Linked DNA regions of Homo sapiens: region 2 is linked to region 1. Evidence: promoter capture Hi-C in 16 types of primary human blood cells and fetal thymus (Javierre and others, 2016). All regions are on one chromosome and are shown on one strand. The core of a region is centred on a gene start or on the middle of the fragment in contact, and the rest is flanking DNA. Distances in the headings are between cores, read along the strand shown.

Region 1 (2,927 bases), core at 358-2,857:
TGAGCAGATTTTAGGAGCCAGAGAATCCCCTCTGCCTCCTGGGAAAATCCCTGCTTGCTTTTGCCTATGCTCCAAGTTTACAGTTGTCCCACCCCTAGACTCAAGGAAAGGCGCTAACATAGCGGCAGGAAATGCCTAGCTGGGCAATTCTATTCCTAAGTCAGAACTCACATTATGTCTGACCGTCCACTACGCCCTCTCCTTGCCCTGAAGTTGAAATGGATAAACAGAATCCCATTGCTAAAGCGACCTTCAACGGGGAAGATCCTTGGGAGAAAGACTTTGCTACAAGTTTAAAAGCCCCAGGTAACCCTGGCCCAAATCACTACCGGTGCCTTCACTCTGCACCTTCCCCATGACCAAGGGGGCACAAGGGGGGAGGGGGGAACCTCAGGCGAGGCTCCCGGAGGAAGAGGAACACTGGAAGCAAGGGAACCCTGAGGGTGAGGAGGGGATGCCTGGCTATTCTCCTTGGGAAATTATGTCCTGACCTTTGGCATTGCTTCCTAAAGGGGTAGACTCCCGGAGTTCTTTCTCCCAAAGACTTCAGGGATATCATCCTATAAAGTCTCCTTGCGTCCCTCCAGCCTCGAGTAACATTACTCAGCCTCCGAAGGGCAACGAAAGACTGGTAGCACCCCCAAGCAAGCACATTCTCCACACTTCCTCTGCTCATCCCAAACCTCGCTCCTTCCCACCTCCCCACCAACCCCGCACCTGACCCGTGACAGACAGAACTGAAGGAGCGCAGCCCGCAGACCTGGAAGCCGGGTGCAGCCTCCAGGCACGTGCCCCCGCTCCGCCTCTGCCTAAGTCAAGTGGCCCGGGCAAAACTACTGCCAAAACAGTTGCTCTTAGGTGGGGCAGGGGACCTGCCTCCCTGCATCCACCCGGCACTAGCTCAGCACCCCCGCCCCACAAACCGTCCCCGCAGCCGCGCACGGCCCTCTCCGGCGGCGCACTCACCTGCAGCTGGGCTTGGCTGGCGTTGCCCGCGGCCGCGTCGGGCCCGTCGGCGGCTCCCGAGCCGCGCAGCACGGTGATGTGCAGCGTGAGCAGCAGCAGCCCCAGCAGCAGCAGCAGCTCGGCCGCCAGGCGCACCATCCTTTTGAGACGCGCGGCTTTAGGACCCGGCGCGGCGGCCGGCGGCGGCGGCGGTGACGCCGGGGGAGGAGGAGTAGGAGCCCGGGAGCCCGGCAGCGCGGCTCCCGCCTCGGCTCCCGCCAGGGCTCCGCTTCCCGGGCCCGCGGGGCTGGCGCTGGGCGCGGCGGGGTGTGCGGGGCCGGGGGAGCAGGAGCTGCCGGCGCCGCCGCCGCCGCCGCCGCCGCACCACGGCGGAGCCACCGCGAGGCCGGGGGTGTCCAAGCCGGCTGCGGAGCAAGCCCCGGCGCTGCCTGGCGGCGGCGGCGGCGGAGACGGAGACTGGGTCCCGGGACAGCCCGGGACCCGGGCCGGGCCGGAGGCCACCCTGCTGGCAGGGGGCTGCGGGGTCGGCGGCGGGGCGGGCGCAGCCGAGCCCCCGAGCGCACATGGGCGCCCCAGATGTGGCCGCGGCGCCGCAGCTGGAGCGGGAGCGGCCGCCAGAGAAGCGCGGGGAGGAGGAGGAGGAGAAGGAGAAGGAGGAGGAGGAGGAGGAGGAGGAGGAGGAGGAGGAGGAGGAGTAGGAGGGCTTCAGCTGCGGCCGGGAGTTACCTCCACGCTTGGCGCCCCCGCCCTCGCCGCCCCGAGCCACTCACCCGGCAAGCCACCTCCACTACTCTCCGCGCTCCTCGGGGCCGCCTGCCGCGCCGCCCCGCACTCGGAGTCCCGGGGAGGGCCGGTTCCAGATGGGGGCCCCGGGCACACCGAGGTTGTCACGGTTTGGCGGTAGCCGGGGCGCCCTCGGCGGCAGCGTCAGCCTGCCGGGCTGTACCAAGTGCCCGCTGCCGAGGTCGCTGTGACGGGCGCGGGTAGAGCCCTTGTGCACACTGAGGCTCGGGGCTGTGGGTGGGTGGGGTGGTGCCTGGGCTGCTTTAGAAACCTTTATTGGCAAACTGGAGCTGGAGTTGCAGTGATGGAAAACGGAGGGGGCGCCGGACAAGCCATGCGTCTGCCTGCGACCCCTGCCTGAAGCAGTCGGGGGAGAGGAGGAGTGCCAAAGTGTCGTTCCGAAGGGTCTTGACACTTGCTGGGCCGCCCGCTAGCCGGGCACGGCTGTTCGCGGATCCGCGGCGCCCCGTAGAGCCTGGGAAGGGAGGGGAGTCCGACTCTCTAGGCGTTCGTCTGGTCACGGGCGCAGGTGTTGGCTGGAAGCTGCAGAGACGCAGTGCCCGCGGCTCAGGCGCTCAGGAACTCGGAGTGAATCTCAGCTCTAGTGGGCTTGCCTCTGTGGGGGGCTCATCCCGGGGGTGCCGCGCCCAGAGGGGATTTGGGGGCTGGCGTCGCGCAGCTGTCGATCCCGGGCCACCGCCTCATGACCGCGCTGCAGCCTCGGGCTCCCGCGTGCGGCTCATGCCTTGCAGTGGGCGGTTGGCGAATGGAAGGGCTCTGGGATCCGGCTGAGGGCGCGGAGTCCGAGCGTCAGATGCTAGAGCGAACTGTGTCGGTCCGTGGCACCGCGCACTTCCCTCCTTGACCTTGCTCGGGCTCCCGCCTTACCGAAGTGACTCGGAGTAGCGGACGCTCAGTCCGGCCGGGACTTTTATACTGCGCTTCCCCTCCTCCTACCCGTTCCCTCCCTTCCTCCTCCCCAGCGCCGGCCCAGCCCTTCCCTCCCAGCGAGCCAAGACCTAGTCCACGCGTTCGCACACAGCCGCGTCGCACATTTCCAAGCCTTTCCCGCGTCCCGGACCCCAGTGCCTCCGGGATGGAGCCTCCGAATTCTCCCTTGGTGAATGAAATTAAATAAATAATCAACTCTTTCTTGACGGCACGCCTCCCTTTCCCCC
Region 2 (2,811 bases), core at 254-2,753, 320 kb before region 1:
AGCCACAGGAATTAACTGGATGGAGAAATCACTCTAAGCTCTGCTAAGTTTCACATGGCAGTCTTAATGGAATTGGAGGAATTTAAGCTGGATGTTGGATAAAGGGTCAGACTTATATGTCTGGGTAGAAAGAAAGATAAAAGTCCTGGGTTCAGAGGCCTGCAAATGGATGAGTTTGGTTGCACCGTAGGTTTTCTGCAGGACAGTGGTTTCAAACTCAGAAGCCAGGGGTGCCAGGCAGGTAGGCAGCCTAAATGTGTGAGACAGGTCTAGAGAGGTAGACAAGTAGAAGAGAGTGGGGCTGACTGGCCATGTGTGTTCCATTGTAAGATATTTTAAAAAAAAATGTGTAACACCAAACTACACTTTGCTGGTCAAACCAAACGCTGGTTTTTGCAGCTTGTAATTCCTGGTGGGGGAATGTCAGTTGATAAAGTTAAACTGTCTGCAGAATTTAGCAAAGTAAAATAGGCCATAGAGGAATTATGACCATAGCTAGAGTCCCCCTGAATATCATGCTACTTTTATTTGTATTATCGTACTTCTGACCAAATGAGGGGAATATTTTGAAATATGTATGAATGGCCCATCCTTGTGGCTATTTGAACTAAACACAGGCTTTGGGTATTTAGAGTCTCTGAAAACATCACTGAGATTAATTTGAATGACATTCGATTTTCTAGGATATGGCACTATCATAATTTAGGTTATATTTTATATCCTAGAATATACTTAACTCCTTTCCTACTCTCTCAGTTCTTTACTTTCTAATAAGATCTATTGAGGAACGAAAGGATAAAGAGTATATAGGTACTATTTCTTTCTTTTTGCTTTTCAATATGCTTATCTTTAATCGTCATGTATTTATGATTTTGAATAACAGTTTCTATTTTTGTGGGTATATTCATAATTATATGGCCATTTGGTGATATGCATAGATACGCTGTACTTAAAAAATCTCATGTTAAATAAGGTAACTTATTACTGTATTAAGTCAACATTAAATATTTTTCTACAGTCTGGAAAGGGTTGAATTTAAATCCAAGTTAAGTGGCCCATCCCAACTGTTATGGTGTTTCATTGACAGGAATAGAATCCAGATTGTCCATGTTACCTTCCAGTCCTTTATCTGTTACTCCCCACTGCTATAAGACTCAGTTTAAAGGCTGGCAGAGCTCTCGTATTTAAAAGAGAAAGTGTAATTTTATCCAGAGAAGATAAATATGTGCCCTAAAATGAAAGAAAGACCAGAGGTCCAGACCATAGCTAGGTGTTTTTGGAAAGAGCCAAATTGGACAACTAAATTGGAAAAGGTTGCCTGCATTTATAAAGGAGATTTCTTTGCTATTTATTAATAATTAGCAAGGTCTTAGCTTGTCTAGCTTTGTATTTTTAAATCTGCCCAGTAATGAATTCATATCCTATTAGTCGGTATGTTAGTAGCATGTTGTGTTGTTTCTGTCTTTGAAGTATTAATACTATGATACACATGCCTCTATGAAGTAAAACTACCAAATGATCTTGGTTCTCTTCTTCTCTCTTGAATATATTTCCCAGACAGTGGTGACTGATTACAGTGAAGGATGACCAGCTCTCCAGTGGGAAAAACAAAGTTAGAGCTAAAGTGTAGTATGGGCATTGCTTGTTCTCACTTTTAGGAAATCAAGAAACTTTGGAGTAAAATAGAACTGAATTAGTAAAAAATGAGAAAAGTGTGATCCAGTACCAAATGACCTCATAGGATGGGAGGGCAGTAAAGAATTTTTTCAAAAAGGAAACACTGAATATAGCAATATGGGACCAATATCAAGAAATACAATTTTTTTACAGATAAAGTGAGAGGCTTAATGTTCGATGGTTTTAGTCTTAGAAGTTTGTTTTGAACAATAGACTAAAGGGCACGCAAAACTTCCAGAAATAAGGATTACTCCCATATTACGAGAAATGGGTGTGGATTTTGGTTTGGTTATTATGGGGACCAGCCAAATATTTCACGGCAGTTGTTAAAGGATGTGCTTTTGGGAACAAACTCATTTAAGAGTGATGTGCAAAATGGTACATTAGGGAAGATCTAAATATGAAATAATCAGAAATGTTAGGTAATAGAAAACTGCTTTAGATAAGCTGAGTTTGGATCACATGTCCAAATTGAGCAAGATGCAGTTTCAGAAGGAACAAAGTTTGAGTTATTGATGAGATTCAATTAAAGAATATTAATTTTATGATACTTTGTTGCTTATAGATGCATGAGGGGCAAGATAAGCCAATAAAGATCCTGTAACAAGCCAGCCTATGGTCTTCTTGTATTGTGGAGAAATGTGTGTATTAGAGGTTGAAAGGCGCAAGGGCCTCCTGTTTGGTCGGGAAGTGATTCAAGAAATCTTTGTTTTTGAGATGGAGTCTCGCTGGGTCACCCAGGCTGGAGTGCAGTGGCGCAATCTCGGCTCACTCTAGCCTCCACCTCCAAGGTTCAGGCTATTCTCTTGCCTCAGCCTTCTGAGTAGCTGGGCTACAGGTGCATGCCATTGTGCCTGGCTATTTTTTAAAATATTTTTAGTAGAGATGGGGTTTCTCCATGTTGGCCAGACTGATCTTGAACTCCTGACCTCAAGTAATCTGCCTGCCTTGGCCTCCCAAAGTGTAGGGATTACAGGCGTGAGCCACTGTGCGTGGCCAAGAAATCTTTTTCTGGAATTATTTGAGCCTGCATCACTTGAAGATATGTAGTACTTTAATGTGTGGTGTGGGTGGGGTGGGGATGAGGGTAGGGGTGGAAAGTGACATTTGCACTGTATGAAGTACAAGTGAGGC

Evidence for each region. Contacts are between HindIII fragments. The CHiCAGO score rates a contact against its expected background, and 5 or more counts as called.
Region 2: a contact is called between a fragment that was not itself captured here and the fragment with the promoter of ISM1 in region 1, in 2 of 17 cell types (naive CD4 T cells and naive CD8 T cells). The highest score is 8.7, in naive CD4 T cells.

The regions. Positions count from the first base shown.
Region 1 is chr20:13,219,954-13,222,880 of GRCh38, reverse strand. ISM1 (isthmin 1) reads right to left here and starts at 1,607. Exons shown (of 6, transcript NM_080826.2): 1 at 967-1,607. The coding sequence starts at 1,104. It also overlaps a transcript of TASP1 not described here. RefSeq lists silencers at 1,176-1,245, 1,705-1,824. The HindIII fragment of the contact is 8,964 bases long and covers 1-2,927 here.
Region 2 is chr20:13,543,181-13,545,991 of GRCh38, reverse strand. The region is part of intron 8 of TASP1 (taspase 1); the gene reads left to right. Among named protein-coding and RNA genes, the nearest start is that of TASP1, 94 kb to the left of the region's middle. The HindIII fragment of the contact is 3,963 bases long and covers 1-2,811 here.